3 separate regions of the Homo sapiens genome follow, and regions 2 and 3 are each linked to region 1. Evidence: promoter capture Hi-C in human tissues and cell types (Jung and others, 2019). All regions are on one chromosome and are shown on one strand. The core of a region is centred on a gene start or on the middle of the fragment in contact, and the rest is flanking DNA. Distances in the headings are between cores, read along the strand shown.

Region 1 (2,700 bases), core at 153-2,652:
GACAGAATACAAGAATAGTAACAATGATTTATCTCAACTGATCTTAGCTTCTTCACAAACTTGCCAATAATGACCTTTCAAGAACTGCACCGTTTGTCCTCATCTGCGCAATCCAACAGTTCAGAAAAACTGAAGAAAATGCTTCTTCTAAAAATAAAACACTTGTTGTGGGGGGGACTACTAACAAAAAAAAAGGCACACTGGTTTTTACTGTACTGAAGCAATAAACTCTCCAAATAACTTCATTAAGGAGTGTCATTAGCAAAGAATGAACACCAAAATACCGCTCAATCCAATTTTCATTGTGAATTCCGGGATCTAGAAAATTAAATGGGACGGTATCACTCTGCTATAAGAACTATTTCCAAAACAAAACAAACCTATCTACCCCCTTTCTTGATTTTTTTTTAAAAAGTTTTAGGGTTTTTCCTTTTTTCAACTTCACATACTTCGTGGCTTTGCAAAAAAAAAAAAAAAAAAAAAGCAGTAAACCGTATTTACCAAAAAAAAAAAAAAAAGTTTTGTTTGGTATCAAAGTATAGCTGCAAGCTGAGCCGGCTGGCTGCACGGGTCCCAGAGCGCGTGGGGACCGCACGGGTCTCCTGGGCCGCTCGCCTGCGACCCGCGCGGGTCAGCTGGGCCGCACCCCCGAGAAGCCGCGGAGAGGCACCGACAGGCAGGCGCGGCCCGACGTGTTTACCGTCCGCGTCGACCCCGGGGAGCCGCTCCCTCGCGCCCGCAGCACTTGTTCACGGCGCGGACTCCACGGCGGGGACTCCACACCGCGGCCGCCCGCCCCAGGGGAGGAGTGAGCCCGCCCCGGCGGCGCCGACCCGGGGACCCGGGGCAAGGATTCGGGGCCTCGCTGGGGGCGGAGCGCCTGAGGTAGCATCGGCGGCCGGGCGCGCCCCCCACCCGGAAAGCGGCGACGGCCTCTAAGTTGGGCTGCGGAGTGGGAGGCGCGCCGAGCCCCAAGCAGACAATGCGGGAGAAGGGCGATGCGCAGGGAGGAGGGGTCCGCAGACCTGAGGTCCCGGCGCCGCCCGGCGACCCGTCTGTCCAGCCCGCCCCCGAAACCCCCGCAGCCCCCGCCCCTCCTCCGGGGCCCGCCCCACCGAGCAACCGCAGGGGACTGGCCGCGCTCCGCGCCCCGACCCACAAATCACAAAACTTCCCCCAACTCCGCCAACTAAGTTGCGCTCTCACCGTGCGGCTCCCGGGGCTCCCCCGCGGGCCGAGCTGGGACAACTCTTCACCTTCGCCGCGGAGAAAGACAATAGGCGGCCGCTCCCCCGGAGGCGGCTAAAGCGGCGGCGACCGAGGCGAGCAATGGGCACGGCAGTCTCGGCAGAGCACAGGCGCTTCACCGCGGCTGCTCGGGCTCCGCGCTGGCCCTGCACACAGCTCCAGTCCGCGCATGCGCCGAAAGACGCTCGGGAGGGTGGGCGGGGCACGCGGGAAGGCGGTAACGCCTGCGAGTCCTCCCGTGAGTACACGCGGAGCAAGAACTGCGAGCTGGGATTGCACGGCAGAACTGCCCATCTCGCTGCATGAGACCAATAGTAAGGCTCCTGGACGGGGCACTCAGGTTGCTAAGGGAGGCTGAGGTTGACCGCCGCTGCTGCTCGGCGGCAAAGTGATCAAAGTAGGGTGGCTGGCAGAGGCTGCTCTGGGAAATGCCCACCCACGGTCTCCTCTCCGCCCTGTCTCCAGAAACCGCCCTTCCTCTGTGTACTGGTGGTTACCTGAGCTGCAGCACTTAACCACACATCGTGAAATGATTTACTCCTCTATTTCCCCCACTTCAACTCAGGAAGTGGGGTTTAGTCTTCTGTGTCCACAGCCTAGGACCGTCTAAGGTATTAGGTATTAAATATAGGTATTAAACAAGTGTTGGATGGATGCACGGCGCTATGGCGGAATCACAATTGTGACAGTGCATTCCGTGAACTTCTGGCTACTCGATCACCACAAAGTCATTCCGTGTTCGAGCTGCAAAGGACCTCAAAAATCATCTGGTTGCTTTGGGAAACAAAATGTGGTCCGTGTACCAATGGTGCCGGTAACCACCGGCCCACAGAGGAAGGGCGGTTTCTGGAGACAGGGCGGAGAATATATTAGTTGGTACACGAAGAAACTTCTTTTTTCAAATAGTTAAGTGTTTTTAGTGCGCATTAGGAGGGAAATGCCTATCACGTCAAACCACTGTTTCATTAATGTTATTTCTTAGGTCAAATAAAAAGTGGCAAAAAACGAAAGCACTTCAAGAAAAGTGTTAAGTAAAAAACTGAGACAATTTATATGCAGTTGAAGAACGTGTAAAACTAGTTGATAGTGATTGAAGTAAGAACAGCGGTTAGGTAGGAGGAGAAGATTATTGGCTGGGAAGGAGGAGGAGGGAACCCTCTGGGGTGCTGGTTCTGTATTTTGACCTGGGTGATAGATAACAAAAGTATATACATGAATAAAAAATACATCCAGTGCACTTTAGTGCACTTTGCACATTTTAAACATGTATTTTTAATGTCAGTTTTCAAAAATCTGGTACAGGATATTACCCCCCCGCCCCCAAAAGAAAAGCAAAGATGCAAATGACTGCCATTTGGGAAACACTGATCCAGGCGGCTCACTAGCAGTGACCAAACACCTGAGAAAGGGTATTGTGAATACCTGATGTGTGTGCCAGGAACTTCCATTGTT
Region 2 (2,700 bases), core at 138-2,637, 98 kb after region 1:
CCTCTCTGTTCGGAGCTCTCAGTGTTGGAGGAACAGCCACTGGGATGGGATTCTCTGAGTCCAAGAACCTTCAGCAGCTGGTCCCCGCCTGAAGAGAGAGCTGCTGTTCCAGTTCACAGCACACCTGGCTGTGACAGGAGAACAGAGGAGCCCTGGCAGGAGCATGAGTCAGACCGAGAGGGGGCGAAAGCCTTTTGGTGAAGGTCCCAGAAGGCAGAAGTCTTTTCATAGGGCTCGGGTCAGAGGTGATCCACCCAAGAGGATGTCTGGCAGGTGGCAGCTTCCTTTCTACACTCTTGCCCCATTCATCCTCTCTTTGGCCCTCATCTCTTCCAAGAGAAGGATTCCTTCCTCCTGTTTTGCAAAGTGACTGATTTTCATTTATGCCAATCTAGTTGACAGACCCGGGTCGACGCAGGGCTAAGGTAAGTGTCTGACTTCACAAGCCCCTGTGGCAGCAGCTCTTCTGATGGTTATAAAGAGCCGCTCAGGAGATGTTGGGCCTCCCGACATGGTCTTTTTTGGGAAAGAACTTATCTGCTGGGTGTGCATCTTAGAGGCCTGCTGTAATTTTGGCTTCAGAAAGGGTGTCATCTGGGGCTTGGCCTGAGTCCATGTTGCTCTTGGTCTCCTTCGGTGAGACATCTCCCCCTCCCACTCCTCCTTACCCTCTTGCTAGTTTCACAGATGTACCAACACATCCATTTTTAATCTGACCAAATCAATTACAAATGTTACAGATTGTAATTACCGAAGGAACTCCTGAAAACTAATTATCTAATACGCAATCCCCACAATAAATTACACCTTTCCTTTGGCTTGATGTTCCAGCAAACTGTTTTCTGCTCATGCCTGTAATCCCAACACTTTGGGAGGCAGAGGTGGGCGGATCACCTGAGGTCGGGAGTTCGAGATCAGCCTGACCAACATAGAGAAACCCTGTCTCTACTAAAAATACAAATTAGCCGGGCATGGTGGCACATGCCTGTAATCCCAGCTACACAAGAGGCTGAGGCAGGAGAATCGCTTGAACCCAGGAGGCAGAGGTTGCGGTGAGCTGAGATCACACCATTGCACTCCAACCTGGGCAACAAGAGCGAAACTCCGTCTAAAATCAAAACACAAAACAAAAAAAAACTGTTTTCTGAGGAGGCAGAGAAAGAGTATTGCTCATCCCTGCCAGGGACGCTCACGAAGCGGCTATTTAGCTCTGCTGCATGTTTGTGGGTGTTTGTCAGAGGTGGCCACAGGCTCCGTGCCAGGGCTCTGGGCAGCAGCCACATCATCTTTTGCCACTATAGGGGATGTTGCCAGAATACCCATTGGCCCGTGTCTTGTCGTTCCACCACCAAGAGAAACTTCAGTGTCCTTGGGCAAAACCTGGGAGGCCAGGTAATGGAAAGCAAATAGCAGATGCAGGAGATGTTTAAAAAGGGAAGAGAAGCAACGTGTTAACCTTGGCCTGAGACTAGTGGAGTCCTGTTAAGTGATGGATCACTAGAGCGTTCCTCAGCAACAGTGCCTGTCAGAGAAGAAACCCAGAGCAGACATTTACATTCTTCTTTTCTTGCTTTTTGTTCACTATCAACAGACAATGGAATATCAGAGTTTGCTGAATCTCAGCTTTAGGTACCAATAAAAGCTTTCCTTGACCTAAATGCATTTGAAAAGCACAGTATAAAATTATGTCAGTGATAAAGTAAGAAATTCACTCATTTACAGGACTCATAGCCTCAGAGTTGCAGACCCTTCGCCGGAAGCTGCCATTCATGTGAAATGCTATTCATAACTGTTAATAAAATCATCAGGATAAAAGAGGAAACAGGGAGCAAAGTTGTAAACATCCCAGGCATGCAGCAAGGATGGAGAAGTTTAGCTACAATTGTTTATGTCAGGGGGGCCAAGGAAGGCTGACAGGAAAAAACATTCTTTGAGTTTGTATTAGTCAGGGTTCTCTAGAGGGACAGAATTAATGGAATATATATACACACACACACATATATATACGTATATACATACGTATATATACGTATGTATATATGTATACACACATATATATAGGGGAGTTTCTTAAGTATTAACTCACATGATCACAAGGTCGCGGAATAGGCTGTCTAGGCTGAGGAGCAAGGGGAGCCAGTCCGAGTTCCAAAACTGAAAAACTTGGAGTCCGATGTTTGAGGGCAGGAGGCATCCAGCATGGGAGAAAGATGTAGGCTGAGAGGCTAGGCCCATCTAACCTTTTCATGTTTTTCTGCCTGCTTTATATTCACTGGCAGCTGATTAGATTGTGGCCGTCCAGATTAAGGGTGGATCTGCCTTCCCAGCCCACTGACTCAGATGTTAATCTCCTTTGGCAACACCCTCACAAACACACCCACGATCCACGATCAATACTTTCCATCCTTCAATCCAATCAAGTTGACACTCAGTATTAACTCTCAGAGTCTCAATAGTAGTAAGAAGGTTCCCAGTGAGAAGGAGTGAGCTTGGGGGTGGTCCTGTGTGCCTAGGTATGCACAGGGTTGGTACGTGTATGTGGCAGTGATTGTGTGTGCATACACACGTGCACATGCATTTGTGTGTGTGCAGATATGAATTGTGTGCATGTGTGCATGTGTGTGGATGTGAGTGGGTGTGGATGTGAGTGTGTACATGTGTGCATATCTGCATTTGCATATGCGTTGCTGGGTATGGGTG
Region 3 (2,700 bases), core at 69-2,568, 120 kb before region 1:
AAAGAAAACTCTCATCTTTGGCAAATCAGACATTTATAATCATCCATGTATGAGGCAACACCCTTTCCCAAAGAACAGCTTTAATTCTACTTGGAAACAATAAAAAACACTAGCATTATGATGCACAAAGTACTGTGATAGAAGCTGAAGTAAAAATGAGAGCAATAAAATAATAATTCAAATACAAAGCCCCTACCCTCAAGGAACATAATAAACGGAAAAGGCATGCATACAAATGTGCATCTGAAGTGCTCAAGCTCTTATTACAAAGTCTGCACAGAGTAGCCGGGGCATAGGAGTAGGAGTGATGGATCCACAGGAGGATGAAAGCTCAGGAGGGGCTCCACAGAGACAAGTGGCAGGAAATGAATCCTGAAAGATAAGTGTTTTTCTTTATGCATGTGTTAGGGATTGGCAGGGCTCGGGGGTGCAGTTCAGAGAGAGGAAGAGATGCCGTTAACAGTTTCACATGGCTGAAGGCTAGCTTACATAGAGTTGGAATTGGTTTACCTGAAGTACCAATGACTCAGCACGGGATCCATGGCTAGGGATTTTTAAACTCCAAATGCTGACATCAGAATACTGCTTTCATTTATGCTGTCCAAAAATCAGTCTCAGCAGCCCGTCTACAACCTCATTTCAAAACCTACTGCTCTTACCAATTCCATCTGCATCATAATCTGCGCTGCTGCTACTACTGCAAAGCATATGGGGCTTTAATTATCTACAATCATACAAGGAATAATTCGTGAAAAATTCTAAGTGACATAAAAATATCATGAAAAAAATGTGAAGTGCTAATTCCCTTAATTATCCACTGAAAATCACTGCTATCTCTTACAAAGAGATACCCAACCCTGTATTTGATAGTACACACCTTGATATTATTCTGAGTCAATAACGCAGTGATAATTTACTCAGGAAGCTAGCCTTTAAAAAAGAAAAGCCATAGATCTGTCCTTCTGAAATAATATCTTACTTAATATATACACTTTCCCATGCATCTTTACAGGCAACCACTGCTGATGGGTTACACAGTCAGCCGTGTTGAAAAATGTAAATGTACCCATACAGTTCCAATTTAATTCATAGGAGGCTTTTCAAAACTATCCTCTTTGTTCATTTGGTTTATATGCTTAAACTTTGGAGTGCATCAGAATCATGTGAAGGGCTTATTTTAAAGTGACTTTTTGGGCCCCACCCTCTGGCATTTAGGTCTGAGATGGGGCGTAAACACCTGCATTTCTACCAAGTTCCTAGTGGTGCTCATGCCTGTGGCTGCTGGTTGCGGACCTCACACCAAGAGCCAGCGCCCTAGAGAAGTCCAGATGGCAGTCATTCCAGGTCACCCCACATACCAATTACCACTGAGAGTAAGCAAGTTTTATAGGATGTATGTCTTACATTTGAAAAAGAGATGGTAAATAGAGTTCAGTGCCAAAGACAACCTCTAAATGTAGATGTGATGTAAGCATCAAGCTTCAATAGTATCAACCTGGGGAGCTGATAGTGAAACCATCCTCACGTGCAGAGATGAAATGGGAAGAGCAAAAGTTTTTAGTTTGAATTACCGCTTCACCTCTTCCTAGCTATGTTCGTTCATCTATAAAATGGATCTCACATGGGTGAGGAGATAAAGTAAGTTACCTTACAAGGAAGGTGTTCAGTAAAAGGTAGTTGCTACCTAAGCTAACAAGGGAAAGAGCTCTCAGCGCAAGTATTTATGCAGAAGATGCAAGACGAAGCCACACAATGTAACTTTACATGCACTATGTCAAAATAACGGGGGTACGTCTCTTTTTAAAACCACCTATATCTAAAGTTTTATCTATGATCTCGCTCAATGTGATATATATATATATATATATATATATATCTCACTTCATTTAATCCTTACTACCACACATTGTTGTAAAAAACATGACTGTTCTCCCTCAGGCTTCCAAGGCAGCTCCTCCTCCAAACTGTTTGCTCATTGATGCTACACCATTCTCCCTCTGTCCCTCACACTAAAACCCTCAGTGGCCATTCTGTGGCTCCTTGAGGTTTTCAGTCATTCTACCAGACAAAATCCATATGTTCTTCCTGCGGAACAGCTTCATCATCCCCAGATCTCATTCTGTGTGCTGTAACGGTGAAGTGATAGGCCTACCTACTTGACAGCCCCTCACTGCTCTCCTTCTACTCTTTATTTTGGGTATGACTTTCATCATGCTACTATTTGCCTGGTCAAAAGATCTCCAGTTGCTCTTCACACTGTTATCCTGTGTAAAACCCCATACTTCCTTTATCAGTGCTGACCAACAGAATTTTCTGCAATGATGGAAATATTTTCTATCTGCAATCAGTATGGTAGCCACTAGCTATGTGTAGCAACTGAGCACTATTTGATGAAGTGAATTTTTAATTTTATTTCACTTTAATTAAACAGTCACATGTGGCTAATGACTACATTACTAAACAGAGCAGCTATATATAATCTCATCTCCAGGTATCCTTCAATGTGAACTGCCCACCCTGGTCAAGCAAAGTCTCTCCCCACAACTGATAACACTCTTCCATGCCTTACTCCAAAGACTGTGCTTCCTCCTCTCACTCTGCTCTTCCCAGTCTCCACAGCCTATCTATCCAGGCTGGTAGAGCCCCCACCTTTTCTGAAAGCTTCCCAATTACATCTGCCAATATTCCATTCCTCTCTCC

What was found. Contacts are between HindIII fragments. The study calls those that stand out against the background at their distance.
Region 2: a fragment that was not itself captured here is called in contact with the fragment with the promoter of AKAP13 in region 1 in 3 of the 25 tissues and cell types used here (IMR-90 fibroblasts, lymphoblastoid cells and mesenchymal stem cells).
Region 3: a contact is called between a fragment that was not itself captured here and the fragment with the promoter of AKAP13 in region 1, in 2 of the 25 tissues and cell types used here (aorta and spleen).

The regions. Positions count from the first base shown.
Region 1 is chr15:85,379,305-85,382,004 of GRCh38, reverse strand. It overlaps AKAP13 (A-kinase anchoring protein 13), which reads right to left and starts at 1,402. Exons shown (of 37, transcript NM_007200.5): 1 at 1,207-1,402. MIR7706 (microRNA 7706) reads right to left here and starts at 1,409; the gene lies at 1,343-1,409. RefSeq lists silencers at 698-865, 522-1,091, 1,472-1,551. The HindIII fragment of the contact is 20,871 bases long and covers 1-2,700 here.
Region 2 is chr15:85,281,463-85,284,162 of GRCh38, reverse strand. No RefSeq gene overlaps it. Among named protein-coding and RNA genes, the nearest start is that of MIR7706, 98 kb to the left of the region's middle. The HindIII fragment of the contact is 6,470 bases long and covers 1-2,700 here.
Region 3 is chr15:85,497,376-85,500,075 of GRCh38, reverse strand. The region is part of intron 2 of AKAP13 (A-kinase anchoring protein 13); the gene reads right to left. Among named protein-coding and RNA genes, the nearest start is that of AKAP13, 120 kb to the right of the region's middle. The HindIII fragment of the contact is 3,827 bases long and covers 1-2,700 here.